Regions from separate parts of the Homo sapiens genome. Here regions 1, 2, 4 and 5 are each linked to region 3. Evidence: promoter capture Hi-C in human tissues and cell types (Jung and others, 2019). All regions are on one chromosome and are shown on one strand. Each heading gives the region's core, a stretch centred on a gene start or on the middle of the fragment in contact. The rest is flanking DNA. Distances are from core to core; before and after follow the strand shown.

Region 1 (2,700 bases), core at 38-2,537, 390 kb before region 3:
CAGGCAGACCCCTCTGAGGGAAAGAGGGCTCCAAAGTGACAGGTGTTCATGGGTCCCTGTGGCTGCATGTTGGAGGAGGACGGGGACAGCAGGTAAGAGGCTGCTGCCGTAGTGCTGGTGGCAGAAGAAGAAGGATGGACCAAGATGAGGGCCCAGGGTAGCGGTGGGGAGAGTGAGATCCTGGAAATCTTTTGGAGATGGAGCTACTGGACCTGTGCATTAGAAGGATGAGGTGTTCAAGGCTGTCACCCAGCCCCATCCAGGCTGGGATGATTTGAGGCAGAGCAGGCTACAGCTCCAGGTGGGAAGCCAAGCCATGACAATGGAGCCAGGACCCTGGGCTGGCTTCAGGAGGCCTCCGTGGGGAAGATACAGGTTCTGAGAGAGTTGGAGGGGTCAATCGGCAGATCTGTTTCCCAGACACTGCTACAGGCATGTAGCATGGTGATTAAGAATCAAAGCTGGGCATGGTGACTCGTGCCTGTAATCTCAGCGCTTTGGGTGGCAGGGGCAGGAGGATCCCTTGAGGTCAGGAGTTCAAGACCAGCCTGGGCAACATGGCAAAACCCTGTCTCAAAAAAAATTCTCCAGACATGGTGGCATGCACGTGTGGTCTCGGCTACTCGGGAGGTTGAGGTGGGAGGATGGCTTGAGCCCAGAAGTTTGACGCTGCAGTGAGCCAAGATCACAACACTGCACAGTAGCCTGGGTGACAGAGTGAGACCCTGTCTAGGAAATAATAAAAATAAAAATCAGACTTTACAGACTGTCTGGTTTCAAATGTTCGCTCCATCACCTACTCATGTACTTTTGGGCAAGCTGCTTAACCTCTGGGCCCCAGTGTGTGAGCCTCGCATTATGATGGTAAGGATGAGATGATCATGATAGGAGTCTCTAGGAAATCACCCCTCTGAGGCACCCATTATGAATGGTGAGCTTGGAGAAGGGGTCCGGTCTAGGGTCCTAGAGAGAGGGTCCCCTAGAGGGTCCCCATCGTCACCACGCCCCAAGACCACTGCCCTCACCGGCCTGGTTTGCAGGCGTGGGGGAAGGGGATGGAGAAGATCTGTGTCCGCTCTCTCAGCCCTCTCTTTTGCCGTTGTATCTGCTCATCTCGCTCCTTTCCGTAGCCATCTCTTCCTCTCCCAGTGCCCGGAGGCTCTCCCCTTTCAGTCGCCGCCTCTGGCCCCTCCATCAATGCGAGCGCCTCCCGGTCCCTCCTCCTGGTCCCTCCTCCCCCGCCGCCGGTAGGGGGGCAGCAGGCGCATGCGCAGTCGCGCCCCTCCCTCTCCGCCCCCACCCCCTGTCGGCGTCTGGGCCTCGTCCCCTTCTCTCTGTCTCCCTTGCCTCCCCCATCACGTCCCCTGACACCGACACCCCATTGCTCCCACAGTCTCCCCAGTCTCCACTTTGGTCCCCAGCGCTGTCTGCCCGAGGTAAGATGGGGAGGGGGCGGCCCGCGGAGAAGGGGAGGGGCGAAGCATCCTGAATCCCGAGATAAACAAACCCGGGGAGGGGGCAGCCGCGACTGAGGGGCCTGACGCGGGAGGAGAAGAATGGGGGGCTGGGCCTGGGGGAGGTGGCAGGCGCTGGGCGCACACACCGGGGCCCTCTATGGGTAACGGGGGTCCCTATGGTTGCCCAAGATCCAGTTGCGCGGAGGCCACCCGGGGCCCTGGAAGCTCCTAGGGGCTTGGACCCTGGAGCCTGCCGGGCACCCTCTCCAGCTGACCTCTGCCTCCAGGATTTGCCTGAAGGCTGCCCCCAACTCTGCACCCGCCCCCCGAGGGCCACCGAGGACCATGACTAAGACAGATCCTGCCCCGATGGCCCCGCCACCCCGAGGAGAGGAGGAAGAAGAGGAGGAGGAGGATGAACCCGTCCCCGAGGCCCCCAGCCCCACCCAGGAGCGCCGGCAGAAGCCTGTTGTGCACCCCTCGGCACCTGCCCCCCTCCCTAAGGACTACGGTAACCACTGTCCCCACCCTGGAATCTGGCCTGGAGCGTTGGGTGGCCGGGGAGGGTGGGCTGTGCTCTGCTGGTGGTGATGGTGGGAGAATTCTGGGGAATTTGAAGGTGGTCCAGAGGAATCTTGGCTGCAGAGCACCCCTCGTTAATTCATTCATTCACCCATTGGAGAATGGAATTGTAATACTCCTAGTCTTTGACTCATGACACATCATTCCATCATTTAGTCATTCAACAATCATTTTTTGAAAGCGGCTGTGGACCTGGCTTTATGCTAGGGGCTGGGGCCACAGCAGGGGGCAAGAGAGACCCAGTCTTTGCCCTGAGACAACTCACAGGCCTCAGTAACAGCCACACAAATAGGTATTAAACCATAATGTAATTTTTCACATTTAGGTTTATATGCAAGAAAGAAAAATATAATGTAATATAAATATGTAATTACAAGACATTATGAAAATTGTATTTACCATAAACAAGCTGCTGCAAGAGTTTTTTAAGACATTGTTTCCCTGAGGAGGTTACAGTTGAGAAGACTGGAGGGTGAGTTGGGGTTAACTAAGAGAAGGGTCAGGGGAAAGGGCTCCCAGGAGAGGTAACCGCTGGGTAAAGGATCTGAGGTAGGAGGGTATGGAGCTGAGAGGGCGGCCTCTTGGAGAAACTGAAAGTGTCTAATCATTGACCGAGCGATATTTATCGAGTGCTGCTACTCTGTGACAAGCCTTATGCTGG
Region 2 (2,700 bases), core at 28-2,527, 330 kb before region 3:
TGAGCTCAGGAATTAGAGACCAGCCTGGGCAACATAGGAAGACCTCATCTTTACAAAAAAAATTAAAAAATTATCTGGGCATAGTGGCACATGCCCGTGGTCCCAGATACTTGGGAAGCTGAGGAGGGAGGATGGCTTGAGCCTGGGAGGTTGAGGCTGCAGTGAGCTATGATAGTACCACTGCACTCCAGCCTTGGCAACAGAGTGATACCCTGTCTAAATAAACAACAGAGTGACATCCTGTCTAAATAAATAAATAAGTCTGGCTCTGGGACTCAGAGCGCTCACCCCAGATACTGGAGTTGTCACCACCTAGGTGTTCTAGTCTCTAGAACTTGAGAACCCAGCAGTCCCAGCCCTATAGCCAAGTTGTTCCCATGCCCAGGACCCAGAAGCCCTGGCCCCAGACCCAAAGAGCCCTGTCTCTGGGCCCTAGAATTATTTTCCCCGCACCCCCCAACTCAGCAGTCTTGCCCCCAGGACCCAGAGGCTGTCCCCTTCCAGGGACCCTACACCCTTGCCCCAGGAATCAGCCTCCAGAACTAAGGAGTGTCATTCCTAAGTCCCAGAATCCCCTTTACCCAGCAGCCTATAACCCTTTCCCTTGAAGGGTCACTCACGGCAGCCAGCCCAGAAGCTCGAGGGCTCAGTGTTGACACTGAGGCCTGACAGGGTGTACACAGACATGGAAGCACTCCCAAAGCGTAGGCAGGGAGCTGGGGAAGGGGCATATCCAGGCACGGCACTGGCCTCGAAGGGTGTAGGTGTCACACTTGGTGGCAGTGGCTAAGGGGCCCCTTTGGGGCTACAGGGACAGCACAGGGCCCCCAGTCTCCTGTGGGGACTAAGGCTTGGCTCAGGGTATCAGGTGGCTGCGGGGCCCAAATGCACGAAGACCAGTGGATCTGGACTGCCCATGTCATGGTCCTGCCTGAATGAAGTCACTGCACAGTCTGCCTTGTGTGAGTGGCAACCTTCAGCCACGTGCAGTGACGTGTGTGCTGCCGGTTGTAAAAGAGATGCAGTGTGGGCGGTTCTTGCTCCAGACCTGCCTCTGCCCATGGTTCTGAGGTGTGGAAGTACAACCATAGCCATCTGTCGCCCAGGATAACTGACAGCCCCAGCTGCTGTGGGTTCCCCTGCAGGAGTGACCAAGAGCTGGGGTCTTCAGAGGGGCTGAATTCCTGAGCATCGGGGAGGGGTGGAGGATAAGGAGGTTGAGGGGGTTGGATTCTGGGATATTGAGAGTGGGGCCTTTGCAGATCTAGGATGCCCCACCCTCGTCTACTAACCAAGAATCTTTCTTTTTCTTCTTCTTCTTCTTTTTTTTTTTTTCGAGACAGAGTCTCACCCTGCCGCCCAGGTTGGAGTGCAGTGGCACAGTCTCGGCTCACTGCAAGCTCCGTCTCCTGGGTTCACGCCATTCTCCTGTCTCAGCCTCCCCAGTAGCTGGGACTACAGGCGCCTGCCACCACGCCCCGTAATTTTTTGTATTTTTAGTAGAGACAGGGTTTCACTGTGCTAGCCAGGATGGTCTCGATCTCCTGACCTTGTGATCCGCCCACCTTGGCCTCCCAAAGTGCTGTGATTACAGGTGTGAGCCACCGTGCCCAGCTAACCAAGAATCTTTCTGTGTGTGTGTGTGTGTGTGTGTGTGTGTGTGTGTGTGTGTGTGTGTGTGTGTGTTTAAGTAGAGACGAGGTTTCGTCATGTTGCCCAGGCTGGTCTGGAACTCCTGAGCTCAAGCAGTCTGCCCACCTTGGCCTCCTAAAGTGCTGGGATTGTAGATGTGAGCCACCATGCCCAGCCTCTATCCGGGAATCTTTTTTTTTTTTTTTTTTTTTTTTGAGACAGAGTCTCGCTCTGTCTCCCAGGCTGGAATGCAGTGGCGAGATCTTGGCTCACTGCAACCTCCACCTCCCAGGTTCAAGCAATTCTGCTCTCTCAGCCTCCTGAGTAGCTGGGATTACAGGCGTGCACTACCATGCCAAGCTAATTTTTGTAGTTTTAGTAGAGACAGGGTTTCACCATGTTGGTCAGGCTGGTTTTGAACTCCTGACCTCGTGATCCGCCCGCCTTGGCCTCCCAAAGTGTTGGGATTACAGGCGTGAGCCACTGTGCCCGGCCTTCTTTTTTTTTTTTTTTAAACTGGGAGTCTTGATTTCAATATCCAGATTTGTCCTAACACAATACTTGCAAGTCCTCTTCTCAGGAATCTAGATGAGTAATCCTACCAAGGAGCCAGGTGTGCCCACCTCATCCAGTAAACAGGAGAGCCTTCAGACAGGACCCAAGGGCTTCCCCCATTACCAAGAGCCTCCACCTGTCCTTCCAGATCAAGGGGTACCTCCTTTCTCCCAGTCCATGATTTCCTTATTTTGCCTCACTTGGTGGTTTCCAGCCCACATTTCTCCTGCGTTCACTGCCCCACCCTGGTCCAAGCCCCATTGTCTCCTGCCGGGACTACTGCAGCAGCCTCCTCACTGTTGTTCCTCCAGGCCTCATTCCTTCACAAGCCCTGTAATCTGTTCTCAACTGGCAGCCACAGGGATGTTGTTAGTGTCTGATATAGTTTGGCTATTTGTCCCTGCCCAAATCTTGGCAGGGCGCAGTGGCTCACGCCTGTAATCCCAGCACTTTGGGAGGCTGAGGCAGGTGGATCACCTGAGGTCAAGAGTTCCAGACCAGCCTGGCCAACAT
Region 3 (2,759 bases), core at 223-2,722:
AGGGTCTAAGCTCTCAACCCTGGCACTTGGGGCCCGGCTGACCCGGATCCAGGTCATGCCACCTTGAGGGCGCAGGTGTTCTCAGTCCTCAAAGATCAGGGAGTCTACACCTCTAGCCCCGGTGCCTCGGGACCCCAGTCCCCACCTCCCACCGCCTCTCCCCACACTCACCCGCCCCCCATGGAACTTCTGGGTGCAGTAACGCGGAGCCCCAGTCCAGCTGTGGGAAGCTTGCCAGGGATGAGCTTGTACCTGAGTTTAGGGAGGACTGTGAGCAATGAAAGAGACCCCTCAACTACCCACTCTCTAGTCTCTACTTGTCAGGGACTGGGAGTTATGGCCCCCCAGCCCGTATTTCAGCACCCCGCGCCCCCTTTTCCTTCACCCTCAGGGGTCAAGCACGCGGCCCCTCCCCACCCAGTCCCAGGAACCTAGGCACGCCCCCCTCCTCCCTTTGCCCTAGGATCCCAGCCTCCCCGCTTCTTCTCCAGCACTTAGGGGTCCCAGCCCGCAGCCACCTTTCCAGCATGTCTCTGCTGTCGCTGTCGGCGTGTCCCCTTGGAGTGCCAGATCAGGGAAACAGAAGCCTAATTTGGCTCCTTCTGCAGGCGATAAGGGGTTAGGGTCAGCAGAGGCCCCACCTGGACACCCTCCCCACACACGTTGTGGCAGCCTCGGCAGCCTACCAAGCCCTGCCAGCTTGTTCCCTGGAGGCACTTCCTGTGGGGATGCCTCATCCCAGTTCCACAGGTCCATGGATGCGATGAAGGCCTTCTGAATGTTCTGGGTCGGGAAAAGTCCAGATGGCAATGGGTGAGCTGGTGACACTTGGAGGCCCTGGAGTCTGGGCCCCAGCCCTAGCTTCCCTCAGAGCCAGGAGTCCAGGCCTCCGCTCCCTCCTTCCCCAGGAGCCTAAAATCTTGGTCCTGGGAGTGAGGGACCCCAGCTCTCTTCCTCTGTTAGACCCAGGAGTCCAGGCCCCCGGCTTCTTGGGAGTCTAGTCCCCCAGGTCCTTCCTAACCCAGACACCCAGGCATCTAGTCCTCAGTTCATCGCTCACCTCTGGCGGGTTCCTCTGCCCCCAGCCGGGGGTCTCAGCCCCATTTCATACCATGCACCCCCTCCCCCAAGGGCCTGGGCAAGGGGGAATTTTCCGAGACGTCAGAGCAGGGGTCGCAGCCAGGCTCAAGTTGCAGAGGCAGGGGCGGGGCCGAGCCTCGACCCCAGCCTCGGGGATAGGTGCTGGCCTCTGGGGCTGCCCTGCTGCAGGGGTGGCGTGGGCTTGGAGCGAGGCTTGGGGAACAGCGGGCTGGGTGAGGGCAGGGCGGAGGCTGGGAGAAGTTTACGGGGTGATGGGGGCGGGGCGGGGGGCTTGGTGAACGGGCTGTCTGCCTCAGGGTCTCGATCCTGCGACATGGGGGGAGTGAGGGGAGAGGGTCTGGGGTCAGCTGGGCTAAGCTGGGCTTATCTGCAACAGGAAGAGGGATTTCCGGCCAGATTCCCCCACCCGCCCCCAGCGTCAGCTGACGTCACAATCGGCAGAGTAACTGCGGGGGCGTGGAGCAGGAGTGAAGGCCCACCCAATCCTCCACCAGGCCCAGTAGGGAGGGCGTCCTGGGGCTGCTTCCCAGGAGTGCCAATCATAGCAATATTGACATCAACAATTTCAACAATAACAATAGTAGCAATAACGGCCAACATTAAATGAGGGCTCATTGTGTGAAACCAACTGTGCCATACCCCTTCATTGAATCCTTCTATGAGGCAAGTACAATACATACTCTCATTTGATGAAGGGGGAAGGTAAGGCAGGCATCCTCCCACTGCTCTCCTTCTCCAGACCCCATGCCCTTCCGCGCTGTAATAGTTTAGGACAATTGGGGAAACTGGAGTATGAACTGAATATGAAATATCATAGAATTCTTTTCTTAGATTTGATAATGGTATTCAGGAGGAAAGATATCATTTAGAAAATGAACTCAGAGATGAAATGTTATAATGTCTGTAACTTGTGGTTGGGCGCGGTGATTCACGCCTGTAATCCCAGCACTTTGGGAGGCTGAGGCGGGTGGATCATCTGAGGTCAGGAGTTCTAGATCAGCCTGTCCAACATGGTGAAACCCTGTCTCTACTAAAAATACAAAAAATTAGCCAGGCGTGGTGGCGGGTGCTTGTAATCCCAGCTACTCGGGAGGCTGAGGCAGGAGAATTGCTTGAACCAGGGAGATGGAGGTTGCAGTGAGCCAAGATCATGCCATTGCACTCCAGCCTGGGGAACAAGAGCGAAACTTCATCTCAAAAAAAGAAACAACAAAAAAAAAGTCTGTAACTTGCTCAAATAATTCAGCAAAAAACAACAAAAAACCACAGCTATACATGTAACATATACATACATACATGAAATATTTAGGACATACCTAAACTATAAAATTGTTCACGTAAAATTCAATAACTGGGTGTCCTATATATATATAAAATATTTTTCGAGATGGAGTCTCACTCTGTCGCCCAGGCTGGAGTGCAGTGGTGCGATCTCAGCTCACTGCAACCTCTGCCTCCCGGGTTCAAGCAATTCTGGTGCCTCAGCCTTCCAAGTAGCTGGGATTACAGGCAAGCACCACCATGCCCGGCTAATTTTTTGCATTTTTAGTAGAGATGGGGTTTTGCCATGTTGGCCAGGCTGGTCTCGAACTCCTGACCTCAAGTGATCCACTTGCCTCGGTCTCCCAAAGTGCTGGGATTACAGGCGTGAGCCACCA
Region 4 (2,700 bases), core at 201-2,700, 290 kb after region 3:
GGCCCCACCCACCTGGCGTCTGGATCTTTGCCCAAGGTCACCTTCTCCGAGGGCCTTCCCGGGTGCCTCAGCCACACTCATCCCTCCTGTGAATCTCACTTTTGTTGTCTTTCTTCAGTGCGACATCGTCTTGGCTGGCTCCTGAGCTAGAATGCCGGCCTCCTGAGGGCAAAGGCTTTGGTCTGCTTTGTCTACTACACGTTGCACAGCAGGTGTTTGGGAACCTAAATGCACGATCCATTGTCTGGACCCTGGGAGGACTGTGAGAGCTGGGGTTGTGGAGGGCGGCCTGCGTCTGGAGTCCTGGCCCCCTAGCTTCCTGGCCACCTGCTCTTCACCTGCTCTTCACGCCTCAGCAATGTCTATTGATGGCCATATCTCATGGTCAATCAGCCATGTAGTAGGTTTATGTCAGCAGCTGTGCTGAGGGACAGGGTGGGAAGGGGAAGATGCTCGATGGTTGCCAGGGAGCTTAAGCCAGGCCCTTCAGGCTTAGGACTGCCTCAGCTCCCTCCAGGGTATCTTGCCTTAAAAACCCTTGGCGGCTCTCGACTAGAGATCCCCAAGGTTGGTCCTACGCCTTATCTTTTTGGTGTCCTAACAACTGGCTCTGTACTGGGTGCATTTCCAGGTGCTCAGTATCTGTGTGCAGAATGAATGAAGAAAGAGTTGAATGACACCAGACCCCATTTTGGGCACAGACACCCCAACACCCTCCTGTCTCATTTAAACAGTTTTTGTTGTTGTTGTTTTGAGGCGGAGTCTCACTCTGTTGCATAGGCTGGAGTGCAGTGGCGTGATCTCGGCTCACCGCTACCTCCGCCTCCCAGGTTCAAGCGACTCTCCTGCCTCAGCCTCCCAAGTAGCTGAGATTACAGGTGTGAATCACCACGCTCAGCTAATTTTTGTATTTTTGGTAGAGACAGGATTTTACCATGTTGGCTAGGCTGGTCTTGAACTCCTGACCTCAGGTGATCTGCCCACCTTGGCCTCCCAGAGTGCTGTGATTACAGGCGTGATCCACCACGCCTGGGCTTTAAACAGTTCTTAAAGCCTCACCTTCCTCCAGAAAAGTTAATGGTGCTCACAAGAATCAAACCAGGGACAAAGTGGATTGATGGGGCGATCAAGGCCTCCCTGAACCATAATTCCTAGAGTTACCGTCCGGGTACTGAGCAGAGATGGGAGGGAAAGGAAGGTGGGAGAGGAAGGTGGCAGTTTGGGGACACCTGCCACGTGCCAGGAGCCAATCTCCCTGATGATCAGATAATTACACCCCTGCCCTCTAAGGAGAATGGGCTTTAGCCCCTTTGCAGAAGCAGGTGAATGGGTGGAGAAAGATCAAACCCGAGAAGCGGAGAGGGGAGCTGGGGCACCTAACTGGAAAGTCTGAATCAGTGAACAGAATTAGAGAACGGGTGCAGAGGACCTCGAATGACAGAAAAGCTGTGAGGTTTCTCAGGGTGGCTGGTCTTCAAGACTTTCTCTGGCAGCTATGGGTTGTGCAAGAATTGGGTAGCGTCACTTTTGGGAAGAGCTGTTTTGAATCGGCTTCCCCTTTTCACATTCTTCGAAAAATGCAAATAAAGGATGGAGGTTGGTTTTCTGGGGGACTTTCGGCTTCTGTGCTGGGTCTCAATGTGGCTCCAGCATATAGAAGACGATGCCTCACTTCCTATCGTGGGCCACCTGCGTGGTAGGCAGTGGCCTTTCCCTCTCCACTTTACAGATGGAGAAGCCGAGACTCAGGCAAGCTGGCGAGCCCTGCCAAGATCACCGGGCTAGTTAAGCCGAAGAATCAAGATTCAAGTTCTCATGTTTGTCTGTCTGCAAAGCCAGTATGCTTTTCCTAACAAGACACCAGACTCTCTAATCTGCTGGTTTGATCAGTAAACCACTGTGACTCCATTTCCTTCCCCCCAGGCCCCATGAAGACTTTCCCCTCTCCTCATCCCCACTCTGACTCCACAGACTGAAAAGAGTTCACTGGTTCTTTGAAGTGGCATCTGAGCCATTTTTATTGTGAGCTCTGTCTCCCTGGCAGGTTAATCCACACCAGTGTGTCCATCTCAAACCCGGAGTCCCCAGAGTCAAGGGGCCGCTGATACGTACGTCTCCCCGTGCAATGCCTCACTTCCAAAGGAGAAGCCAGGCCAGGACTGGGCCCCTTTCTACTTCGTTTCTGTCCTTTTCTGGGCTTTCCCTCAGAGGCAGAAACTGGGCATAATATTCGTGAGTGGGGATGTCAGATCAGGGGTAGAGGGCCAGAGAGATGGAGAAGGGAAGGAAAAATGATGACGAGCAGATCCCAGGAGGGACACAAGCAGCTGGGGGTGGAGATGGCCAGTGGCCGTGGTGGGGGCAGGGGGAGGTGTGCATGTCAGGGCAGGTATTTAGATGGATTTCTGGGTAGCAAGGAGAGTGGAAGAGAACAGGGGCAGGAGTTTTGGAGGTTTGGGGTTACCCTCACCAAAAAGACTGGCTCTGAGCCAGGCACAAGGTTCTCCGCAGTGAGTGTGTGTGTGTGTGTGTGCGTGTGTGTGTGTGTGTGCGCACATGCGCGCAGGAGGAAGCCATGTGGCGGTGTCTGGGGAAACTCGGGGACTTCCCTGGCCCCCGCTGCCCCCAGTGCCTCTGCTGCAGCCCATCCAGTGTCAATGTTTGAGGATCACATAGTCCACATTTTCTTGTGCCTGAGGC
Region 5 (2,700 bases), core at 167-2,666, 360 kb after region 3:
TTGAACTCCTGACCTCAAGTGATCTGCCTGCCTCAGCCACCCAAAGTGCTGTAGGCATGAATCACCACCCCTGGCCCCTCCCATTCTTGAAAGCTGTATTGCTCTCATTTTCGTTGCCCCATTTTTTTTTTTTTTGACACCAGGTCTTCTTCTGGAACTCCCAGTCTTAAATTATCCTCCTGCCTCAGCCTCCCGAGTAGCAGGGATGGTGCAACTGCACCGGGCTAGAAACTGGGACATTTAAAAGCGTGAGATACACCAGCACACAATCCATTAGCCATCTGGTGATGATGCCAACAGGTGTCGCAGAGCCTCCTGGAAACTCCATTGTATACTCATGAGAGAACCAGGGTGAAAAAGGCAAATAAACATCTTTGTAGGCCGGGCGTGGTGGCTCACACCTGTAATCTCAGCACTTTGGGAGACTGAGACGGGTGGATCACTTGAGGTCAGGAGTTCGAGACCAGCCTGGACAACATGGCAAAACCCCACCTCTACTAAAAATACAAAAATTAGCCAGGTGTGGTGGCACGTGCCTGTAGTCCCAGCTATTCAGGAGGCTGAGGCAGGGGAATCGCTTGAACCTGGGAGGTGGAGGTTGCAGTGAGCCAAGATCATGCCACTGCCCTCCAGCCTGGGTGACACAGAGAGACTCTGCCTCAAAAAAAAAAAAAAAAGAAAGAAAAAAAAGGAAAAAAAAAGGAAAAAAAAAGTCTTAGTAGTTTCCACCTTCAGGAGCCCTACAAAAGGAGTCCCTGGATCTTACTTTGAGAACCTTTATAGCAGTGTCCAATGTTTTGGCTTCCCTGGGCCACACTGGAAGAATTGTCTTGGGCCACACATAAAACACACTAACACTAATGACAGCTGATGAGAAAAAAAAAAATTGCGGAAAAATCTCATAATGCCTTAAGAAACTACAAATTTGTGTTGGGTGCATTCAAAGCCATCCAGGGCTGCATGTGGCCTCCAGGTTGGACAAGCTTGCCTTACAGGCACTGATTTCTACAGCTGTTTTAGGAAGATCTCAAGGAGAGGAAACATTAACTTTCATCCCCTATTATTGCAACATGAAGGGGGAGAACAGAAACAAATTTTCTTCACCAACTTTCCTGGCAACCTCCAGGACACACCAGCCCCACATGACCCACCAAGCACTGGTGCTTGCAAGGCAGGGTCAGGACAAGCTCTTAGCACAGACACTCGGCAGAGAGAAAGGACAACAGACACTCTGGTTTGGAAAACAAAAGAACCAGCCATTTTATTCCAAGACCTATGTTCTGGGGCAGCAGGAATAAATAAGGAAGGGAGGGGACGGGGGCAGGGCAGGTAGGTTCTACGTCTTGCAGCACATCCCACACTTTGATCGATGACAGCAGCCGCAGCAGAAAATGCAGATGGGGAAGTGGGTGTCTCGCCTCCTTCGCCTCTGGAACATGGGCTGTGGGAAGGAAGGGAATGTGAGCAGGGAACCGGCCTTAGCATGGGGAGGGAGCAGGGGGCTAGGAAAGGCATCACTGTTGCGCTCACCATCCAGCTGGCCCTGGCTCCAGCTCTGTCCTGGGGTTGCAGCTCTGCAAGTTGTCCCGTCTGTGAAAGCAGAAGGGGGTGCAGAGGATGGCAGGGGGCCCAGTGGACCTCTGAGACTGGCTCCCGGCAACCTGCTCCTCTCCAAGTGGTTTAAACCCAGAGCTCAAATGGACTCTTAGGAGGGGCCTTGCTTTCTTGCTTCTGCTCACCTTCCCATGGGCGGCTTTTCCTAAAAAAAAAAACCTCCCAGATCCGCCTCCTCCTCTTTCCACAGCTGCTACTCTTCTTTGGGATATCACCTTCCCCTGCCTGGATGCCAGTGCCAGCCTCCTAACACACCTCCCTGCATTCTTGCCCCTCAATCCATTTGCCACACAGCAGAGTCACTTTTTTTGTTTGTTTTTTAGACAGAGTCTTCCTCTGTTGCCCAGGCCAGAGTGCAGTGGCACAGTCATAGCTCCCTGCAGCCTTGACCTCCTGTGCTCAAGCGATGCTCCCGCCTCAGCTTCCCGAGTAGCTGGGACAGCAGGTGCACGCCACCACACCCGGCTAATTTTTTAATTTTTTGTAGAGGTGGGGTCTGGTTGTGTTGCCCAAGCTGGTCTTGAACTCCTGGGCTCAACTGATCTTCCTACCTTGGCCTCCCAAAACTCTGGGATTACAGGTGTGAGCCATGGTGCCTGACTGGCAGATTAAGTTTTTTAAAACATGGCCAGTGAGATTGTGGTTTTCTCCATTTTAAAAACCTACAGGAGGCTGGGCGCAGTGGCTCACGCCTGTAATCCCAGCACTTTGGGAAGCCGAGGTGGGAGAATCACCTGAGGTCAGGAGTTCAAGACCAGTCTGGCCAACATGGTGAAACCCTGTCTCTACTAAAAAAACAAAAATTAGCCGGGCGTGGTGGCAGCCGCCTGTAATCCCAGCTGCTCGGGAAGCTGAGGCAGGAGAATTGCTTGAACCCGGGAGGCGGAGGTTGCAGTGAGCCCAGATGATGCCACTGCACACCAGCCTGAACGACAGAGCGAGACCCTATCTCAGAAAAAAAAAAAAAAGCTTATGGGGGCTTCCTCTTTATTCCAAGGAAAAATCAGTGTCTGCATGGTTGCCCACAAGACTTAGGGACTGCCCACCCCTCAGCCTTATCCCCAAGTCCCACCATCTCCTCTTGTT

The links. The method cuts DNA at HindIII sites, captures the fragments that hold promoters and counts their contacts. A contact is called where the count stands out against the background at its distance.
Region 1: the fragment with the promoter of CLIP3 here is called in contact with the fragment with the promoter of ETV2 in region 3 in 2 of the 25 tissues and cell types used here (mesenchymal stem cells and ovary).
Region 2: a fragment that was not itself captured here is called in contact with the fragment with the promoter of ETV2 in region 3 in 1 of the 25 tissues and cell types used here (lymphoblastoid cells).
Region 4: a contact is called between the fragment with the promoter of FFAR1 here and the fragment with the promoter of ETV2 in region 3, in 2 of the 25 tissues and cell types used here (dorsolateral prefrontal cortex and lymphoblastoid cells).
Region 5: a contact is called between a fragment that was not itself captured here and the fragment with the promoter of ETV2 in region 3, in 2 of the 25 tissues and cell types used here (dorsolateral prefrontal cortex and mesenchymal stem cells).

What each region holds. Positions count from the first base shown.
Region 1 is chr19:36,031,460-36,034,159 of GRCh38, reverse strand. It overlaps CLIP3 (CAP-Gly domain containing linker protein 3), which reads left to right and starts at 1,287. Exons shown (of 14, transcript NM_015526.3): 1 at 1,287-1,436; 2 at 1,745-1,968. The coding sequence starts at 1,803. The region is part of intron 3 of LOC101927572 (a long non-coding RNA gene); the gene reads right to left. The HindIII fragment of the contact is 12,641 bases long and covers 1-2,700 here.
Region 2 is chr19:35,972,009-35,974,708 of GRCh38, reverse strand. No RefSeq gene overlaps it. Among named protein-coding and RNA genes, the nearest start is that of SDHAF1, 22 kb to the left of the region's middle. RefSeq lists a silencer at 955-1,155. The HindIII fragment of the contact is 9,546 bases long and covers 1-2,700 here.
Region 3 is chr19:35,640,458-35,643,216 of GRCh38, reverse strand. It overlaps ETV2 (ETS variant transcription factor 2), which reads right to left and starts at 1,472. Exons shown (of 7, transcript NM_014209.4): 1 at 1,061-1,472; 2 at 687-783; 3 at 519-602; 4 at 172-252. The coding sequence starts at 756. RefSeq lists an enhancer at 601-1,316. The HindIII fragment of the contact is 9,443 bases long and covers 1-2,460 here.
Region 4 is chr19:35,346,652-35,349,351 of GRCh38, reverse strand. It overlaps FFAR1 (free fatty acid receptor 1), which reads right to left and starts at 1,450. Exons shown (of 2, transcript NM_005303.3): 1 at 1-1,450. It overlaps CD22 (CD22 molecule), which reads right to left. Exons shown (of 14, transcript NM_001771.4): 14 at 1,991-2,700. The coding sequence ends at 2,655. RefSeq lists a silencer at 120-320 and enhancers at 1,599-1,678, 2,279-2,378. The HindIII fragment of the contact is 9,647 bases long and covers 1-2,700 here.
Region 5 is chr19:35,283,679-35,286,378 of GRCh38, reverse strand. HAMP (hepcidin antimicrobial peptide) reads right to left here. Exons shown (of 3, transcript NM_021175.4): 2 at 1,531-1,590; 3 at 1,236-1,441. The coding sequence ends at 1,337. Among named protein-coding and RNA genes, the nearest start is that of HAMP, 2.5 kb to the right of the region's middle. The HindIII fragment of the contact is 4,818 bases long and covers 1-2,700 here.